Regions from separate parts of the Homo sapiens genome. Here all the other regions are linked to region 5. The links are contacts of gene promoters, found by promoter capture Hi-C in blood cells and fetal thymus (Javierre and others, 2016). All regions are on one chromosome and are shown on one strand. The core of a region is centred on a gene start or on the middle of the fragment in contact, and the rest is flanking DNA. Distances in the headings are between cores, read along the strand shown. Region 1 overlaps RGL1 (ral guanine nucleotide dissociation stimulator like 1). Region 2 overlaps IER5 (immediate early response 5). Region 3 overlaps TSEN15 (tRNA splicing endonuclease subunit 15). Region 4 overlaps MR1 (major histocompatibility complex, class I-related). Region 5 holds the start of DHX9 (DExH-box helicase 9).

What was found. The method cuts DNA at HindIII sites, captures the fragments that hold promoters and counts their contacts. A CHiCAGO score of 5 or more calls a contact.
Region 1: a contact is called between a fragment that was not itself captured here and the fragment with the promoter of DHX9 in region 5, in 1 of 17 cell types (total B cells). The highest score is 5.2, in total B cells.
Region 2: a contact is called between a fragment that was not itself captured here and the fragment with the promoter of DHX9 in region 5, in 3 of 17 cell types (activated CD4 T cells, non-activated CD4 T cells and total CD8 T cells). The highest score is 6.6, in activated CD4 T cells.
Region 3: a fragment that was not itself captured here is called in contact with the fragment with the promoter of DHX9 in region 5 in 1 of 17 cell types (total B cells); the score reaches 5.4 in total B cells.
Region 4: a fragment that was not itself captured here is called in contact with the fragment with the promoter of DHX9 in region 5 in 1 of 17 cell types (naive CD4 T cells); the score reaches 5.5 in naive CD4 T cells.

What each region holds. Positions count from the first base shown.
Region 1 is chr1:183,912,278-183,916,622 of GRCh38, forward strand. It overlaps RGL1 (ral guanine nucleotide dissociation stimulator like 1), which reads left to right. Exons shown (of 18, transcript NM_001297671.3): 16 at 4,170-4,345. Among named protein-coding and RNA genes, the nearest start is that of RGL1, 110 kb to the left of the region's middle. RefSeq lists enhancers at 1-70, 3,768-3,957. The HindIII fragment of the contact is 2,496 bases long and covers 1,332-3,827 here.
Region 2 is chr1:181,090,104-181,094,299 of GRCh38, forward strand. It overlaps IER5 (immediate early response 5), which reads left to right. Exons shown (of 1, transcript NM_016545.5): 1 at 1-2,797. Among named protein-coding and RNA genes, the nearest start is that of IER5, 3.5 kb to the left of the region's middle. RefSeq lists an enhancer at 1-95 and a silencer at 110-404. The HindIII fragment of the contact is 1,793 bases long and covers 452-2,244 here.
Region 3 is chr1:184,054,697-184,058,608 of GRCh38, forward strand. It overlaps TSEN15 (tRNA splicing endonuclease subunit 15), which reads left to right. Exons shown (of 5, transcript NM_052965.4): 3 at 32-167. Among named protein-coding and RNA genes, the nearest start is that of TSEN15, 4.9 kb to the left of the region's middle. The HindIII fragment of the contact is 2,494 bases long and covers 1,006-3,499 here.
Region 4 is chr1:181,035,600-181,039,752 of GRCh38, forward strand. All of the region lies in intron 1 of MR1 (major histocompatibility complex, class I-related), which reads left to right. Among named protein-coding and RNA genes, the nearest start is that of MR1, 3.7 kb to the left of the region's middle. The HindIII fragment of the contact is 3,097 bases long and covers 1-3,066 here.
Region 5 is chr1:182,837,070-182,841,161 of GRCh38, forward strand. DHX9 (DExH-box helicase 9) reads left to right here and starts at 2,278. Exons shown (of 28, transcript NM_001357.5): 1 at 2,278-2,387. It overlaps DHX9-AS1 (DHX9 antisense RNA 1), which reads right to left and starts at 2,522. Exons shown (of 2, transcript NR_148933.1): 1 at 2,243-2,522; 2 at 1-865. RefSeq lists an enhancer at 1,903-2,744 and a silencer at 2,168-2,597. The HindIII fragment of the contact is 6,331 bases long and covers 1-4,092 here.

The sequences.
Region 1 (4,345 bases), core at 1,330-3,829, 1.1 Mb after region 5:
CAACCCTTCTCATAATTCCTAATGCAGGCACCTACATGCTCTTTGCCACACCACAGCAAGGAATGTCTGTTTTTAAGTGGATCACTCTATAGTATTTTGAAAGTCATGTTTTGAACAGGCATCAAAAGAAGAGTTCAATTTGGGGACATACTACTAATAGAAACAGGTGTAAAAGCACTAAGCAGTTTCGTTTATTCATTTGGCCTTTGAAATATTGTTCTATACCCACCTCTTAAGGCACTGGAGTTATTTAGGGGAAGTAGGACTTCTTAGAAAGAGCAAAAAGTCAGAGATGGAGATGTGTCAGGTTCTTGGTGCCATGTTTTGTCTTAGCCAAGCATTTATCACAATAATGTTGCATTGCATGCCACTCCAAAAGTCAGTGACTTAAAACAACCACTATTTATCTCTCTTATGTATCTGCTGGTTGGCTGATCTAGGTTGGGCTTGACACTAGGCCACAGATTTGGTCCAGGTCTGTTCCACTTGCCTCTCATTATTGTTGGAGTAACGGGCTACCCAGGGCATGCCCTTAGCATGCTAAGACGGACAAGCAAGAGGGCAAGCCCACTCGCAAGCATATGTCAAGCCTTTACTTGAGTCGTATCAACCAACATTCTATTGGCTAAAGTAATCATGTGGCCACATTCCACATAAGTAAATGAAGCAGAGAAATAGGCTCCAGTTTTAGTGGGAGGAACTCTGAAATCACAGTGCAAAGGGCACAGCTGCAGGGGAAGATGAGGGATTGGTAACAAGGATACATTCTCCCATGTTGGAAAAAAGGAAACTGATGAGAGGTGATAAAAGAATTTCCGTCGAGTTTCTATTTTCTGTGACTGCATAAATAAAAATTTAAAAACCAAAATATCTTAATCTTAAGATCTTAATTAAGACCAGTCTTCTTTTTTTTTTTTTTTTTTTTTTTTTTTTGAGATGAAGTCTCACTACTCTGTTGCCCAGGCTGGAATGCAGTGGTACGATCTTGGCTCACTACAACCTCTGTCTTCTGGGTTCAGGGGATTCTCCTGCCTCAGCCTCCCGAGTAGCTGGGATTACAGGCATGTGCCACCATGCCCGCATAATTTTTGTATTTTTAGTAGAGATGGAGTTTCACCATGTTGGCCAGGTTGGTCTCACACCCCTGACCTCAGGTGATCCACCCACTTCGGCCTCCCAAAGTGCTGGGATGAGCCACCGCACCCCACCAATATCAGTGTTAATCTTCTGTACACATCTGCTTCAATCTGTTGGTTGAAGGGTTTGGATCAGAAAGTCAACTATGACATAACTAGAATTTGCACCATTTGGGGAAGGTTTCTGGCTAACCAAGCTTACTCAATAGTGACTTCTGGCTCCTTAGCTTATGGTTAGGTCAGTAAGGTAGAATGTTGGCAATGGTTTCATCCCTTGGTTTATATCTGCTGCTCTTCAAGGGGACATGTGTGTTGCTTCACATGGTGTTAAAACAACAGTGGTAATCCTGGAACCCTCAAGTGACTTTGTCATAATGTAGCCAATCCAGGAAAAGCATCATATTCAGGATTCATCAAACTGAGATGACTAATTTGCTGCTCTAGTTGGATTTCTTAGCTTTCTGCTTTGAAATCCAGGGGATACAATCATTCATGCTCTAAATATTGAAAGAAAGCCTTCGTGGACACCTACGGACTGGCCATGCTCTCAAAAGGCATTTTTCCTCAACCCGGGATGTAGTCATTCTTCGTGACTTGACATACAAATTAGCTTTGTCAAAATCTGGAATGCAGTCTCATCATTCACTTTTTCACAGCCTCTGAGGTTTTATAGGCTCCATTTCTGATGGTAGACATTGTAGGAAAGTAATAACTGAGGTATTGCCCACATTATTGTGGGATTTCTCCCTGTCTCTCCAGGAAGGAGATGGAATCACAGTCACACCTTGTGGCATAGTGGAAATGTACATTGGTCCAAATGGTACCTTTTAAAACTATGCAGAAGCCCAGTGTGCTTTCTCCTGCACATCCCTTGCTTCATCTTTTTTGTCTCATCCCTCATCAGACTGGCTTTTTAAATTCTTGCAGAAGTCATGGCTCTTTATTCTTTGGATGAACCTTTCTCAGAGTCATACATTTCTTAAACATCAGTGATTCACTTGGATGCAAGTAGCTCCTGGACTGCACAATCCCTGCATATTAGCTAGAAAGGCTCGTGATTCTCCTGCTTGGCACATAGCTGGACTGAGCTGACCTCCACACTTCCTTCCTGACCTGAGAGCCTGTGACAGCCGCCTTCTCCAAAAGTCCTCCAGACTGTCATTCTTCCTTTTCCACAGGCTGCACTGTGAGGTTGCTCTTAAGGGTGAAGTGTAATTTATTTGCATTCCTTTCTTCATTCCCCGATCATGATTTCTAAATATTGATTTTTGCACTTGCTCCTCACTTCTTAAATTCTCAATAGGAATTTGGGGGCTCATCAGGCAGTCTGTTTAGAGCTGCTATAACCCAGGCATATTCTAGGCTTTATCTTAACTATAAATGTCACTAGAATCATAGAAAAATCTAACAAAGGAAATAGAGTTTGGATAGAGGAACATGAAGGCGAAAAAATTGAATGAATAATTGGAAAATGCACCCCCTTAACTAATATATCTGCAAAGAAACTTATGCTATTAACTTATCTATCATCAGTTAGTCCTCAAATTGAGCCACTAAGTTGATTCATTTGGGAACATAAGGAAGAAAAAAACCCAAAAACCAAAACAAAAACTAAACCATATTATGATAGAGCCACAATCAGACCCCTACCCATGAGAATTGTCACATCAGCTGGCTGGCTGTAAACTAACTGTGCAATAGAACTGAATGTATAATTATGCCACAGGAGGAAATCTACAGGAAATAAGATAATAGACTCCATTTTAATCAGAAGCCTGATAACCAGAAAGCTCAACTTCTATACTGTTTCCATGGAAAGGCAGATAAATATGAAAGAAATGTTATTTATTTTATAAATGACTTCCAGAATATTTTATAGGATTAACATGGTATAATTTAGCTTAAGTCATTCCGGGAAATTCTTTATAATTTTCTACAATAATAATGGGTATTTTAAATGGTTCAATTTAATGATTTTTAAAAGTACCTCTTCCAATAACTTCTTTCTTTGGTTATTGGTATTGCATGGATGAGAAATGTGTAGTTAATCAGAAAAGCATATTAACTGTAGTACTCCATTTCTTAATTGTCCTTGATACACATCATGAAAATGTATACAGTTGGCTCTACTAGCAAATGTGGAAAGTGGTGAAGCTGCTTAAAGGCTGTATTTCCCTTGAGCAAGTCACTTTTATATTCTGAATCTTATTCTCCTCGTCTTTATAATGCTCTGCATTTTGTTCACAAGACAGTTGTGGAATTAAAATGGGATAAGATAATATGAAAGTTCATGATAAGCCTCACAGTACTAAACATACCGAGGTAGCAGCATACTATGTTGATTCATCTTATTGTCATCAGCCACAGGCTGAGCCTTGGCCATGTGCTTGCTCTGGGAACTCGACAGTGGGAATCAGGGAGCTTGGGTTCCTGTTCTAGGGGTGCTGTCAACTAGCTGTGTGGACCTGGAGCCCCAGTTTTCTCCCTGGGTCTCAGGTTCCTCAGCAGAACAGGTATGGGACTAGTTGATGTCCAAGGCCTTTCTAGCACTAATATTCAATGCAGAGCCGTATAATCTGGGGTACTTCTCTTAGAAACTTCTAAAAATACAGAACTTTCTCTCTCACTACGAAATCTGACTGCAGTAGGACTGAATCAACTGCGTTGGCAAGGCTTTCCTCCAGCCCCGTAAGCTTCTGACTTCTTTGGGAACCCATATTGCCTCCAGTTTCTGGTGTCTGCTGCCACCTGCTGGTTAACTTCTATAAGAACAGCTAAAACCTAGGGAAATAGAACTGCTTTGCCTCACGTGCTTATAGAGTGATTAGGTCACACTGAGTCACCGATAGGCATCTACCACTGATGGGGACTCAGAGTACTTACACCAGGGATGAGACACATGTGTGCTGTGGGCTGTTGTGGAGGAAATAACTGCAGTCTATCAGTCTTGATATCTACCTCTGCTTTGAAAATTGCAAAGCTGTTGGCCAGCGTTCTAATCTGTTTTCTTCTGGGGTGTGTTTACTCTTCCAGCTCTCTGAGTCCTCCTCATCCTGTTCTTCTATCCATTCCATGGACACAAATTCCTCAGGGATGTCTTCCTTAATCAACCCCCTCTCCTCCCCTCCGTCCTGCAACAACAACCCCAAAATCCACAAGCGCTCTGTCTCGGTGACGTCCATTACCTCGACTGTGCTGCCTCCTGTTTA
Region 2 (4,196 bases), core at 98-2,597, 1.7 Mb before region 5:
TGTGTTTGTGTATGTCTGTGTATGTAAGTTTGTCTTGTGGCATTAAGACTATTTTGCTCTTCTGGAATGCACCACTCCTTCCCCAGGGTTTAAGAGATTGGGGGCAGACAGGGACTTTCCTCTGCCGGCTGCGTGGAGAAGGAAGCGGCTAAAAGGTTTGGGCCGGGGAGTTCCCCATTCGTTCTCCGGGGAGGGAGGGACTTTACACCTACCCCTCACCGGAAAGCTAGACCCGCTTCAGGGCCAGGAGTGGCGTTTCCGCACAGGATTTCCTAAGACGAGAGGGATTTAGCCAAGAGCACAGACTTGGATTCCTTCTGTCCCTCCCCACCTTTCTCTCCCAATGAAGAAACGTTTATATCCTGTGATTACTCTAGGAAAGGGGCGTATTAACGGTCCTTTGCTTCCCCGCAGGGGAGAAAAAGCTTGACGAACTTCACAGAAGAGTTCAAGCTTGGAAATAATGGAGTTTATAGAGAAAAGATATATTTTTAAAAGCTCTAGGTCAGAAGTACTACACAGTGCTTTTAAAAAGTGTTTAATGAGAGTTTACAGACAGAAGCCCGAAGTGGAAAGACCTTATGGTTTTGTAGATATGGTGACTCCAGTCTTTGTTGTATAAAGGTTGGGGGAGCTGATAAGGTTTTTGTACAGTATTTTCTCCTTCGTTGTATTGATTTTTGTATAAAAATGTAACTTCTACGTGTCTAACACGTATTAAATATTTTGAAGCAACGTAACTGCCTGCTTGTCTGTAATAACCTGCCTGGGTTGGGAGGGAAGTGGGAGGAGGGAAACCAGGGCCTGAGCTAGAAAATTGAAGGTGTGGTTCTTAGTATCAGTCATTCGCAGACTGAGGACATTGTTTACTGACTCCACTAAGTATCAAGAGAGACACGTTTAATTTTTCCTCCTAGATCAGAGGACTGCTATTAGATACTAATATCGGCGACCTGTCAGGTTCTAGAAACCTGCCACTACAACTGCCTTTTCTAAGGTCAGTTTAGACCAATTTGTCACCCAATATGTGGGTGTCTAATACTAAGTAATTTAACCAACTTTTGAAGCCCCGCTTATCCACAAAAATGTTTTTCAGCAAAACTTTGTTTCCTGTTAAGCTATTAATACGGGTCATCTTTTAGCTTTGTAATTGAAAAAAAAAAAGTTTAGATAGTAGTTTACCTTAAAAGCCCATTCGAACTGACATAGGAAGATGAAAGAGACTGACTTGTCCAAATTGTCAGGTCCACCTCTGCATCACAGTGGATGTCAGGATGTAAATTTTCAGTTTTTCTCTTACATCTAGAAAGTAAATATATTGCTGAGAGGGAAATTGTTTGCATCAAACCAGATAAGGAAGGAGGGCTAGGCAAATTTAGTTCTCATTTAGCAAAACTTCCTGATTTGTTTTGTTACTTAAATGGTGACATCAGTGTTTGGTCATGGTAGACACTTAGGTGATGATAGCCAAAACATCCATCGATTTTACTAAAATCACTGCCATTAAGAGAGTTTTTTGTCTCTTCATGTTCAATGTTTGAAAGGTATTCAGTAATCTATTTCAGAAGCAAATCAATTAGGGAATGGTGTTTATTAAAATACGGTACAGTTGCCAGGACTTTAAAAGATGGTACTGGTTTCTAACAACTTACGAGTATATAGGGTATTTAAAAGATGGGAGAGATTGAAGAAAGACAAAGGTTTAAAGGTCATAGCCTTCGAGCATAAGAGGCATATGAATGGTGTCTTGGCCTTAACTCCCAATTATACGAACTTCTGTTTTAGCTGAATAGGCCAGTGCCTCGTGCCTTGATATTTCGGCAAATCTATTAGTGGTTCCTTAAGCATAGGGAACTTTGTACTTTATGCTCTGTCGCCATAATAATGTATTTATAGAATTAAACATTCTCAAATTAGGGTCTTGTTAAACTGACTTTTTCTTTCAGAAAGTAGCTACTTAAATTCTGTTACAGCTACAAAAGATCCATCAAGTGCTGACTGCTTAAACTGAAGAAGGTGTCCAGGGCCTTAATTCTGCAAACATTTCCTGTTGTTAGAAAGTATGATGCTTGAACAGCGATCTCAGTGTATTTTATGTTTTAAAGGGGGTAACGTTTGGTGTGTTTAAGAGAGCTGATGTGTTTTGGATGAGACTAAAGTTGATCCTTGGTTTTACATTAAGATGAACCTGGGTCCATGTGTCTGCTTAAAGAATGTAAATTGGCATACTTGATAGGAGGATAAAGCTTTGTAGGAATTAGAAAAGATCATTCTCTTTTTTGTTGCAGAAGCAGTATAGTATAGTAGTTAGAGCATGGGCCCTGGAGCCAGGCTGCTTGGTGTCTTCCTTTATTTATTTATTTATTTAATTATAAAAAGTAAATATAAAGTGAGCTATGTTGACCAGGTTCGTCTTGAACTCCTGGCCTCAAGCAATCCTCCTGCCTCAGCCTCCCAAAGTGCTGGGATTACAGGCATGAGCCACCACAACCTGGCCTGCTTGGGTTTTTCTATCTTGGCTCTGCCACCTAGCTGTGGGTCCTTGGACAAGTTACTTCATCTCTCTGTGCCTCAGGTTTTTCAAATGTAAAATTGGGATAATTGGATCTGTCTCATAGGGTTGTGAAAATTAATGAGTTAATGCTCTTAGAAGAGTACCTCATATGTAATAAGCACGCAACTGTTAATTATTGTTAATGTAGAAGTTAATTCTGTGTATAAATCAGATACACTGTGGTCAAAGATTTGTGTGTATTTGTAAGAAAAGAGGAGAATGGAGAATCTATTTTTAAGTGGTCCTATGTGTGAATGCTGGGTTCTTTTATTCCTCTTTTTCTCTGGACACTTGGCAGTCAGGAAGCTTTGTTCTACCAACATAGTTTTGTTGCTGTGAATGTCTCACACCAACCGGATGATTTTTCCAATTGTATCAAACAACTCTATTTTCAGGGAGGAGTAAGCTGAAGTGAAAACAGGCAAGGAGCAAAGTTCTTGTTGACATACAAATGCTTTCTGTGGATGAGTAAAGAAAAAAGTAGCCCATAAAGTTATTTTTGCTTGAATTATTGCGCATGGAATGTTTAAAACATGCTTATTGATAGGTTCTGGACAAGAGCCTTCCCAATGCCAACCTAGGGCTATCACACAACCAAATCAGATGCAGTGTGACTAGAAACGATGCCATGGTTTTAGTACCTAACCACTTCTTCACCACTCTGGGAGGGACCTAGTCTCTTGATCAAATTAACCTTAGCTCTGGGGTGTAAAAAAACCTTCTGACTGCTGCGTAAAAGCCAGATGTTTAAAGTGCTTTCCAACAAGTACTCCAAGAAGATCACATTAATAGGGAATAAAGTCTGGGCGCGGTGGCTCACACCTGTAATCCCAGCACTTTGGGAGGCCGAGGCAGGTGGATCACCTGAGGTCAGGAGTTCAAGACCAGCCTGGCCAACATGGTGAAACCCTGTCTCTACTAAAAATATAAAAATTAGCCAGGTGTGGTGGTGGGAAAAAAGAGAATAAAGGGATAAATGTTAGTAATGTATTTTTTTTTTTGAGACAGAGTCTTGCTCTGTCACCCAGGCTAGAGTGCAGTGGTGTGATCTCAGCTCACTGTAACCTCTGCCTCCCTAGTTCAAGCGATTGTCCTGCTTCAGCCTCCCAAAGTGCTGGGATTACAGGCATGCACCACCACGTCTGGCTAACTTTTGTATTTTTAGTAGAGACGGGGTTTCACCATGTTGACCAGGCTGGTCTCAAACTCCTGACCTCCGGTGATCCACCTGCCTTGGCCTCCCAAAGTGCTGGGATTACAGGCGTGAGCCACTGCCCCCGGCCTAGTATGTACTTCTCAACCATGTTGTTTTAACCCTGTCTTCCCTTTTAGAAACCATCATTTGTTCTTGGCGATGGGAACTAATGATGGAAAGCCTGAATTGCTCCTCCAAGGTGACTGGGTTTTCTTTATGGCACCAAATAACCTTTCCATTCCTTCTACTCATCACTGATTGGATTTGGGAGTGTGAAGTGAGAGGAAATGGGTCATTTGACAACTTTGGTGGAAAGCTTCTCAGAATAAAGATGTCAGAAATATTGGGAATGAAATTAATAATTATAAAACTGTTCCATCTTATCACTGGGTTAGTCTGAGTCTCTCTTACTGCAACTTACTAGGCATGATAACCTAGCCTCAGATC
Region 3 (3,912 bases), core at 1,003-3,502, 1.2 Mb after region 5:
CATTATTGTCCATTCAATGATGCTCTTTCAGGCAAAAGCTGGCATGAAGTAAACTGTGTAGGATTACCAGAACTCCAGCTCATCTGCCTTGTTGGTACTGAGATAGAAGGGGAGGGGTTACAGACTGTGGTGCCTACCCCCATCACTGCTTCCCTCAGCCATAACAGGTGAGCAGGTGATTTTGGTCTAAGTTCCTTTCCCGAGTAAAGCAGTAGGAAACATTAAACATAGTGATGTAATACTTTTAATGAAATTTGGGATACAGGGTTCATAGCTTTACTCTTGGCTATTTGAGGAATAAGTTAAATATGAGTGTTGTATTCGGCCATTCTTGCATTGCTATAAAGAAATACCTGAGACTGAGTAATTTCTTAAAAAAAAAAGAAGAGGTTTAAGTGGCTCATAGTTCTGAAGGCTTTACAGTAAGCATGGTGCTGGCATCTACTCGGCTTCTAGGGAGGCCTCAGGAAGCTTATAATCATGGAGGAAGTTCGTGAAGCAAGAGCAGGCACATCATATGGCAAAAGCAGGAGTGAGAGAGAGTGTTGAGGGGGAGGTTCCACACACTTTTAAATGACCAGATCTCACGAGAACTCATTGTCCTGAAGACAGCACTCAGCCATGAAGGATTTACCCCTATAACCCAAACATCTCCCACCAGGCCCCACCTCCAACATTGGGGATTACAGTTCAACATGGGATTTGGGCAGGAACAAATATACAAAGTATATCAAGCATTCAACAAGTATTTATTTAGCACTTACTCTATGGTCAGTACTTTTTCAGAGACAGTATGTATGGTAGAAATATTTATATTCTTGGTAAGGAAGCAAGACCATTACATATGAAATAACAGCTGTTATAAGATGTACCATGTAATACAAATTATACTTTATATAGCAGTTGGTGAAAAGCATGATTAACATGCAAGCTGAAATCAAATTTTCATGTAGCTTTTTTTAAAAGCTTTAAAAAAGAGACTTTTTTTAGGACCTTTTTTTAAAAAGCTTAGGTACACAGCATTGGATTAAACATGTCTTTGTTTCATGACATACTCTCATTATTAGTTCATGCTTGGTTTTTATTTATTTACTTAGTTATTTTTAATAATGTAATAAGTATCTCTGTACCCATCACCCAAAGCAAAACTAGATTCTTGATAATAACTAACATCTAATCTTATAAGTCCCTTCCTTAACGTGCTTTCACTGACCTGAGGTAACTCATTCTGAATTCCATGTACATTGGGAATTTTTAAATTTTAGATGTTTTTAACTTTAATTAAAAAATCTTATCTTTTAAGGCTGACCTTATACACTTAATATTATATTACTAAAATTCATCCATTCTTGTGCATTTTTTGAGCTGCCACATAACATTCCATTGTGTGATTATACCACCATTTTTACATCCACTCCCTCGATGATGGAGTGTTGCTAATGTTTAACTTTAGGAGATAATTTCAAACTATTTTCAAAGTGGTTGCCTCAATTTACTTTTCACCTGCAGTGTAAATAAGATCCTTTGGAGCTGTATTGTCTCTCACATTTAGTATTGTCAGACTTTTAAATTTTTGCCAATGGAATGGATTATTCTTATTTTGGTCTTAATTTACATTTCCCTTATTACTCATAATACTGAATATTTCTTTATATATGTATTATTTATAAGAAATATCTGTTCATATCTTTTGCCTGTTGGGTTGTTTTTAGTTTTCTCATTGACTTGTATGAATTCTTTATATATTCTTGACCTAATAGTTTTTTTATTGTGTTTTCCAGTTTTTAAGTCTGTCTTTCACTGTCTTAAGATGTCTTTCAATGAGTAACAGTTCTTAATTTGAATATAATCATATTTATCCATCTTTTATAATCAACGTCTTTGTGTCTAGTTTAAGAAATATTTTCTATCTAACGGTCTAAAAAATACTTATATTTTCACTAAGAGTTCTATTGTTCTTGTTTTTAATGGTGTGAGAGGCGGTTAGGGATACCATTGTCATGTGGATAACCACTTTTTCTACCTCCATTTACTGAATAGTCCCTCCTTTCCTCACTATCTGACATATCACTTCTGCTACTTTCCAAAGTTCCAAACATGCATTAATTTGTTTCTGGGTTCTCTATTATATTCCATTAGCCAGTTTATCTGTCCTTTTGCCAATACCATATCTCTTAATCGCTTGCTTGGTAAGAAGTCTTGGTATCTGGTTAGCAAGCCTCCCTTATGCATTTCTTCTTTAGAAGCTGTAGCAGGCAGCTTCTAAGATGGCTTCTCCTAATTCTGGTATTCACTCCCTTATGTAACTCTCTTCCCTTGAGTGTGACCTGGACTCAGTGACTTCTTTCTAATGAATAAAATTTGGCAAAAATGATAGGAATGTAACTTCTAAGATTAGGTTACAAAAGACTGTGGCTTCTATCTTGGGCACTCTCTCTTGCTTACTATAAAGGAAGCCAGCTGCCACGTGAGCTGTCCTACAGAAAGTCTGAAAATAGAAAAGAGATGACAATTATTGATGGAGCAAGATTCTTGAGAGATGAGGAAGGATGGATTCAAGAGGATAGTGGAGGAGAGTAATATTGAGCATGTAAAGGGGTGCTGTAAACCTCTGAGAGTGGGGTATGGGAAGAATGAACAAATGAAAACACAGCTCTATTTGGGTGGCATATAAGTAGGGAAAAGAGCAGAGCCTCTTAAATTCCAGCATGAATACCGTTGATGAATACTTAACATTTTTTCTAGCTGACTATGACTGAATACATAGCAGTCTAGTAGAAAGAGCCCCAGACTATAAAGTCTTAAGACCTGGGTTCTAGTCTTGGGACTGACACTTAACATTTTGTTTGATGTTTAGCAACACACCTAATTTCTCTGGGTTTCAGTTTCCTCGTCTTATTTTGTTGTTGAGGGATTTAGATTACCAGTACATGCAAGATCCCTTCTAAATTAAAGCTGCTGTAACTGGTTATTTTCATTGTGCATATTTCATAAAGCCATATTAAACTAAATTTGCAGATTTCTATGAAGTATTTTTTGTATTTATTATTCATAATGAGAATTGTTTTTTAATATGTCAGTCTATTCATATGCTTCTTTGAGAAGCTCCTTACTGTTTTCTCTGTGTTTGAGAATTACAAATAGTTGTTAGCATTGACATCAGATTTAATCGCTAGTACTTTCCGGTTTTTACTAGCATGATTTCCAAGCCATCCTATATCCAAGAGTCTTAATTCATTCCTCAGAACTCATTACTTCTGTCTTTTAATTACTGTAACAAATATTGTCCTAGCTAGTATTAATGTTATATTATTTGTTTGGACAAGGAGCTACTATTTGAAATTAACCTGCATTTATTCCTAAAAAATAAAATTAATGAAAGCAATAGCCTATTTTAATCAAAATCATTTCATAAGTCTAGAAGTACAAATTTGTTTCCATTGTTAATTTCTAGTATTTTCCAGGTGGTAATTAATGCTTTTCTAGCTTGAATGGCTAAAGCTTGTTTTCTTCTTCAAGTAGAATTAGTTGGAATGATAACTTGGTAAGCCATTTTGATGCTGTTGCATTTAATAACTGAGAGAGCTTAAATCTTTATGTCTTGTTTTTATATAAATATTCTTAACTATATTATACAGTAGAATACTAATATAGAATGTAGCACAAATGAGGCCTGATACATACTAGATTTATATGCCTTTTAGTGCATAACATTTTCTCAACTCAAACTATGCAAATAACTTTTTAACAAATGGAAATGTGTGGGTGTATATGTGTGTATGTGTGATTTCATTATTCAGTCTTTAACAGGGCAGTCTTTTAGGTAGTAGGCATACTTTTATCTATTTTTACTTTTAGTGTATTTTATAATATAAAATGTTATATATCTAACAGTAATGCTGCAATTCCAGC
Region 4 (4,153 bases), core at 268-2,767, 1.8 Mb before region 5:
AGAACTCTCCAATAATATGGAATAATATTCCTTAAACATATTATCTCCTATGACAATCTCACTGACTATTTGTAGTAGGTGAAGAAAATATCCCCATTTAAAGATGAGGCCTAGATTTTTCTCTAGGCCTAGAGAGTGACCACGCTCACATAAGGAGCAACCTGAAGGAGACTGCAGATCTTCTGGCCCTCGGTCCAGGGCTGTTCCACAATGTCATTGCTCCTTTGGGTGTGAAGACTTGTCACTTTGATAATTGGGGGGACAGGAAATAAAACAAGTAAGTTATAAAGGCAAGGGAAGGTCACTTGGTGCTGGCTGTTCTCCTTCTGACTCCTTAGAGTGCATCCTTCTCTGTTCTGTTCTGTGTCCTTGAGGCTGACTGCTAGACTGCATCACCTAGACTCTCTTGCAAGCTGATTTCTGCTTGGGTTCATACAATGGGAGACACTGAAAGGAGAGATGTCAGAGAGCAGGGAGGAAAGAGAGGCTGGGATACATCTTTCTTGCTCCTTCCCCACTTTCTGTGATGTCTTTGGCAGTAGCTATGTTCTTCTGTAATGCTGTCTTCCCTGAATAACCCCTTCTTCATGGTTCTAGCTCCCATTGGGCTTCAGTAACGGTATTTGCTATTCTTATCTCTTAAGCCCTAGGGGTGATAATGGCTTCCCATAGTTGTTAGCCTGCAGATGCCCATCATCCTTGTTTGTTCCGTTAACCTTGACCATATCTCTGCAAGGAGTCCCTTCATTAAGGTCTCCTCACATGACCCATCTGGCTTGAAGGCTGTTTCCTGCTAGGACCCTAACTGAACATTCCTGGGCTTTGAGGGATATTGGCTGGAAAAGGATATGAGATTATGAAAGAAGACTCAGTCTACTTGATATTTATGCCTAGTGCTAGCCCTGAGTGGGAGCTATATACCAGTAATAGATGGGGAAACACGGGGAAGAGATACTGCAGGGTTGTGGGTCATTACTCCAGGAAATGTCAACATAACTCCAATATCACTTTCAGTGTGTTGCTTTCATCAACTCCACAGCCTGCAGTTGACTCCTCCTTCCTTTGTGCTCCCATGGCTCCTGTTCACAGTTCTGTAATTTTCCATTTACAAAAATCTTCTCTTTGAGGCTCTCCTTAAAGACAGAAAGAGATATCTTCATTTTTTTCTTATTTCTCTGGTATACCTAGTGCCCAACAGGCACTTAGTAAATGTTTGCTGAGTGAATTTATGTTCGGAGGTAATGTCCCTAAGAAATCACAGTTATTTGACTGGGAGCCATAGAGAGCTCGGGCAGTAATAACGACTGCAAATTCAAAACTGTGGCTTACTGTAGTTGCAGGATTTGTATTAAAAAGGTGTTTCATGCTTTTACAACTCATCTTGTTCTTCATTTCAGCCTGTGTGAAACTGTGAATTGGCGATATGGGTGGGTGTAATCAGACTGGGGGCTGGCATGAGATTTCTCATGCATTGCCATATGTGATTTGTATGTTTCATCTCGACATAACCAAGGTCAGTCTCTTGATATTACTCATAATTTTATGGCTGTATAAATCTGCTATATCAATCTACTTCATGAATGGTGGAGTCCTTCACAGGCGAGGTCTGATGATGGATAAGCTCCCTAAGCTGCCAACTGGGTTACTGTTAAAAAACAGACTTGCATATTATCTGCTTAGAAGTGACCTTGAGTTCAAAGAGTTAACATGAGAAAATATGGGCTTTTTCTTTAGACTTTATTAGATAGACTTCAGTCTGTTTCCATGGAGCTGTTGCCAAGGTATATGCCATAGAAATTTCTCCAAGACAATGTTTCACTCCCCTAAGGCCCTCTTCTTAATTGGCATTGAATCTATCTAAACTTGAGAAATTCAACTAATTTGTAGATTTTTCTTTTGACTAGTTGAAATATCTGTCTATTCTCACTTGACCCCAATCCTCTTACCCCACAGTATTGCTAAGAGCTGGAGGAAAGGAGCCTAAGTTAAAGATCAAACACATGACTCTTTGAACACTTATTTTAGGGAACTCAAATTGAGAAAGATGACAAAGGATGTTTTTTCTGATGTATGAATTTATATTTATCGGGGAAAATCTTTCAAGAGTATACATATTAAGTCACATTTTGTTATAACTTCAAAGGATCATTTTAGAAAAATAAAATTTATAAAATCGGGATTTTCTGGGAAACATAAGACATATAGTCATCATTGTGTACAGAGAGTACTGAGGGAAAAAAGACACCAGAGCTCATTCATTCGTTTTCCAAAACTCCACATAGTCCTACAGGGCTCACTTTCTTACTCCATTCACATCTCTGCTCAAATGCCACCTGCTGTGGTCCCTCTATCTAAAAGATCAGGCCTTCTCCTCTCCACACTCTCTTTTCTCTGCTTTACTTTTCTTCATAATCTTTATCTCCACCTGACCTTGTATTATATATGTATTTATTGCCAATCTCCTGTCTAGAAATTATCTCACAGGGCTGGGACTTTCATGTGTTCATTGCTCTGTTTCCAGCAGCTAGGACTGTGCTTATTGGACATTCAGAAAAGAATATACCTATATGAAGTGAGACATTGGCAACCTTCAAAAGGGTAGCCTCAGAAGAGTAGCTCACAAGCCAAACTTGTCACAGTCGCCACTTTTATGCTCTAAGTTCCTGTAGTTAGTTAGACATGTCATTAGGAGAGGGGACTAATGGTTCTTGCTGCACATAGAACCATCCATGAACATGGCCTGAGATGTGTCCAAAGGTCCCCTTAACTAAAAATATTGCCACCTACTTCTCCCCTCATTCCCACGATGCTCGAAATTCTAAAGAGTCATTCCCAGGAATCATAATCATTTTGACCTTATTAAGGCATTGGACTTCTTGAGAGAGCCAATAAATAATCAGACTGTGTTGACCTGGTTATCCAATCAGGACTCACGGCCACCTGTGTGTAGGAAGGTCTGGAGCCTGTGGCCCCAGGGACTGGGAAATCAGAGGCAGTGAGTCATCCTTGACACAAGGGGGCAGGAGAGAGCAGTGATAATCCAGGGGCTAGAAGCCTGGCCTGGAAAGCTTCCCCTACACTAGGGAGGGTTGGGTAGTCTCAAGGTAGAGGGACTTCCCATGGAGAGATCACAGTGTGATTCCTGGTTCCTTCACTTATGGATTCTGAGGATGATCTTGGGCAATTAATCTCTCTGCACCTATTTTCTTTTCTTTTTTTTTGAGATGGAGTTTTGCTCTTATTGCCCAGGCTGGAGTGCAATGGCGTGATCCCGGCTCACTACAACCTCCGCCTCCTGGGTTCAAGCGATTCTCCTGCCTCAGCCTCCCAAGTAGCTGGGATTACAGGCATGCGCCACCACACCCAGCTAATTTTTTGCATTTTTAGTAGGGACAGAGTTTCTCCGTGTTGGCAAGGCTGGTCTTGAACTCCTGACCTCAGGTGATCCGCCTGCCTTGGCCCCCCAAAGTGCTGGGATTACAGGCATGAGCCACCACACCCGGCCTCTCTGCACCTATTTTCTATCTGTGGGTTGGAATTATAAGACCTACCTCAAAAGTTTGTTAGAAGAATAAGTGAAACCCATGCTTATCAAGGGCTTAAAATGGTACCTAACACAAGGTATGTGCTCAATAAACAAATACAGTTGTGATGACTATGATTAAGATGCTGCTGCCCTTTATGCCTCATTGAAGGCCCATCTGATCTGCCACCTCCTTGGAACATTTCCCAGTGGATCCCTTCTCATGGGACCACGGTCTCTCTTCTCCTAGTGGCTGGAGCACTCCATTGGTACTCTTTTCTGGCGCTTGCTGCTTGTTGCCGTGTGTGGTGGAATTCATTTATTTGTTATGTGCTTTAGCTCCCCAATAATACTGTAAGTTCCTGGAGGAAAGAGCTGGTATTTGATTTGTTCTTCTCTTCCTAACATTGCCTCCAATTCCTTGTACATAGTAGACACTAAATAAATAATTGCCCCCATGAGGCCGGGCGCGGTGGCTCACGCCTGTAATCCCAACATTTTGGGAGGCTGAGGTGGGTGGATCACCTGAGGTCATGAGTTCGAGACCAGCCTGACCAACATGGTGAAACCCTGTCTCTACTAAAAATACAAAAATTAGCTGAGTGTAGTGGTGGGCGCCTATAATCCCAA
Region 5 (4,092 bases), core at 1,028-3,527:
CAAAATTCTCCTTAATCCTTGGAAGCTAAAGATCCAGCTTTGAAAAATGTATTTCCATGTAATATATTGATACTTTTGTTGTGCTCATTATATACTATAAAACACTTGCAATTCATTTATGCTAGTTGAGTCTCTTTATTTATTTACTTATTTTGAGATGGAGTCTCACTCTGTCACCCAGGCTGGAGTGCAGTGGGACGATCTGAGCTCGCTGCAACTTCTGCCCCTCCTCCCTCCAGGTTCAAGCAATTCTCCTGCCTCAGCCTCCCAAGTAGCTAGGATTACAGGCACACGCCACCTTGCCCGGCTAATTTTTGTATTTTTAGTACAGACAGGGTTTTGCCATGTTGGCCAGGCTGGTCTCAAATTCCTGACCTCAGGTGATCCACCTGCCTTGGCCTCCCAAAGTGCTGGGATTACAGGCATGAACCACCACACCTGGTCTTGTTGAGGATTCTTGCATCTATGTTCATCAGGGATACTGGCCTATAGATTTTTTTTCTTGTGTCCATATCTAGTTTTGGTATCAGGGTAATGCTGCCCTCACAGGATGAGTTTGAGAACTGGTATGAGTTCTTCTTTAACTGTTCAGTAGAATTCAGCAGTGAAGCCATCAGGGCCTGGACTTTTCTTTGATGGGAGACTCTATATTACTGATTTAATCTCATTACTCATAGTTGGTCTTTTCAGGTTTTCTATTTCTTCTTGGTCCAATTTTGGTAAGTTGTATCTGTTCAGGAATTTATCCATTTCCATTTGGTTTCCAATTTGTTGGCATATAGTTGTTCATAATAGTCTCTAATGATCCTTTGTATTTCTGTGGTATCGGTTTAATGTCTTCTAGGCCCCTGCTGCTTTCAACACCCTGAAGGGTACAAAAAAAAAAAAATTAAGGTCTTTCCTTCAATGATTTTATTCTTAATTAAGGAGAACAATCACATGAAGAAAATAATAAGTAAATGATAAACTATGTTGTTCTGATTTTAAGAATGACAGTTTTAAAGGGAGTGATCACTATCAGCTAGAAGGATTAAGAAAAACATAAGGAAAGAGGTGAAAAATAAAGATCCATAGATATAATGAGCCCAGATAATTGATTAGTCTGGATTCCCTGGAACAATCCCAGCTGGAAATGTTTTGTATCATTACCTTCATGGGACGCACTGGAGTTTCAAAATTTAACAGTGACTAGTATAATAATTAAGGACACAATTATTCCAAAGACTTGGAACACAAAATTACTCCAAAGACTTGGAACACAAAAGGTTATCCAATTTAAACAAAAGCAACCTTGCAGATTTTATTCCTACCTTAAAGTAGTTTGCTGAGCACTTACAGTAATGTTCCAGGCACGGCAAGGAGCGACCTGCGTTAGCCAGGCAGAATGCCCGCCTTCACTGAGCTTATTTCTTTCATGGTTTTTTTTTTTTTTTTTGAGACGGAGTCTCGCTCTCTCGCCCAGAAAATGGCGTGATCTCGGCCCACTGCAACCTCCGCCTCCGCCCCCGACCCCGGGGTTCAAGCGATTCTCCTGCCTCAGCCTCCCGAGTAGCTGGGATTGCAGGAGCCCGCCCAGCCACCCAAGCAGCTGGGATTGCAGGCGCCCGCCCCCATGCCCGGCTAATTTTTGTATTTTTTTTTTTTTTTTTAGTAGAAACGGGGTTTCACCACGCTGGCCAGGCTGGTCTCAAACTCCTGACCCCAAGTGATTCGCCCACCTCGGCCTCCCAAAGTGCTGGGATTACAGTCACCACGCCCGGCCAGTTTATTTCTTTCAAGAGACACTGGCGTTCAGACTATCTGAATCAATCCGGTAACTACGCCCACTGAACACCTACTACATGCCAGGTATTGAACTAAGCCGCCCTTCATATGCCATCTCATGTAATTATCTCAACAACCCTACCAAGTTAGCAGCAAGGTTTCCAGTTCTGCCTTCGAAGGGAACCTCCTCTCACCGGAGATCCCTATGACAGACCCTGCGAAATATTTTGCTGCATCAGAATGCTACAGGCCGTCAACTCCCTAACATGCGCAAAAGCGGGCAGCCGATTATCCAGGGTAGTGGATTATCCAGGAGAGTGGATTATCCAGAGTAGCAGGTCTGGCGCGATGCCCGCCCGGCTCAGCCCATCTCCCTAGCAACGAAACCCTTCCGCGCCGCGAGGTTGCTGAGCCCCGCCCCCTCCATTGGCGCGCCCTCGCCATCCCCCGCCCTGGCACGCGCTCTGCGCATGCGTACGCTCGCTGGCCCCGCCCCCTAGCGCCGCGGTCGGAGCCATTTCGCCGATTCCTCCATGCGAGTTGCTGTGCGTTTCTCTGTTGTCTCGGTAGAAGGCCAGAGTCACACACGGTCCTAAGAGCTGGGCACCAGGAAGCGAAGGCTGGTAAGGGAGAGACGTTCCGGCTACCATGCGGGGCGGCGGGGTCGCGGGCGGGCGCCGTGGACCATGGCTCCGCAGCCGGCTTTGTTGCGAAGCGCGGGCGGCGGCGGCGGCTGGGGGTGGGGGAAGGGACGAGCCGCCCGCGGGTCCCCGGATTGCGGGTTGCGTGCGCGCCTCGCCGCGATGCGCTTGCGCCGTCCGGGCAGCCTGTGGCCCCCTCCCCTCTCCTCCGCCCAGCGTTTCCCGCTGCTGCCTCTAGCAGGCAAAGCGCGCTTCCTCCTCTGGCCTGCGTACGCCGGGGCACCGCGGCGGCTGAGGGAAGGGGGTGCTTCGCCTGTGGTGGTTGCCGCCGGGGCGCCACTGGCCTAGGGCTCTTCATTCATTCAAGCCACGAATAACTGGCGCCGTCGTGCAGGCCTTGTGGGTAGAGGAAAAAAAATTGAAGAATGTAAAGGGAGAGCGCCTTTGGCTAGTATAGCGAGGTAAGGCGTCTCGAAGGAGGGAGGCTTTGAGCTGATAACCTCGGCCAACGCGAAGGAAAAGCAGAGCCTGCAGAAGCGGAAGGGATTAGTTATCGCTTAAGGGCAGAAACTGGGCGGGAGCTGAAAGCAGGCCATGTGACTGGAGTGTGGCGAGAAGGCCTTCAAAGGAGAATGGGTTTTAGGGTGGCAAGAGTGGAAACAAAAACCGTGTAGGACAATATTTCACTAGCCCGGGTGTGCAGTAGTGGTGGCAGGAGAGATGGGGAGAAACGAATGGATAGGGGACGTATTTTGAAGCAGAAATGCGTAGTGGTGGAAGGTAGTAGATCTGGAGTCAGGCTACGTTTTCTGGAATTCTTGCGCCTTTTTTTTTTTTTTTTTTTTTGCAAGAGTCTCGCTCTGTCGCCAGACTGGAGTGCAGTGGCGCGATGGCGGCTCACAGCAACGTCGGTCTCCCGGGTTCAAGTGATTCTCCTGCCTCAGCCTCCGGAGTAGCTGGGACTACAGGCGCGCGCCACCACGCCCAGCTAATTTTTGTATTTTTAGTAGAGACGGGGTTTCATCATGTTGGCCAGGATGGTCTCGATCTCTCGACCTCGTGATCCGCCTGCCTTGGCCTACCAAAGTGCTGGGATTACAGGCGTGAGCCTCCGCGCCCGCCCGAATTCTTGCTCTTATAATTAGGAGCTCTGTCTTCCTGAAGCAAGATATTCTTTGTCTCAGTTTCCCCTTCTCTAAAGGGATAGTGATCTTACCTGTACAAGGTTACTAAGGATTAAGTAAAATAGTTCCATTTAGATGATCTATTATGGATATTGTTTGACACACATTAAGGGTTCTACAAGGGATAGCTATGGAGAATCTTAAGGGAGTGGACGACTCTCAACTTGTGCCAGGAGTAACTTGGTGGATGTCGTACCGTTTATGGAAACCGAAATGTAGGGGTAGGGTGTTGGAACAGATTTGAGGGGAAATTTAAAATTCTGTTTTGACTGAGATGCCAAGTTAGCATGCAAATGGGTGAGTTAGTGCCACAGTTGGATGAACTTAATTTTGGACTTTAAAGAGAAACGACGGGCGGGCGCGGTGGCTGACGCCTGTAATCCAGCACTTCGGGAGGTTGAGGCGGGCCGATCAAGAGGTCAGGAGATCAAGACCATCCTGGCCAACACGGTGAAACCCCGTGTCTACTAAAAATACAAAAAATTAGCTGGGCGTGGTGGCGG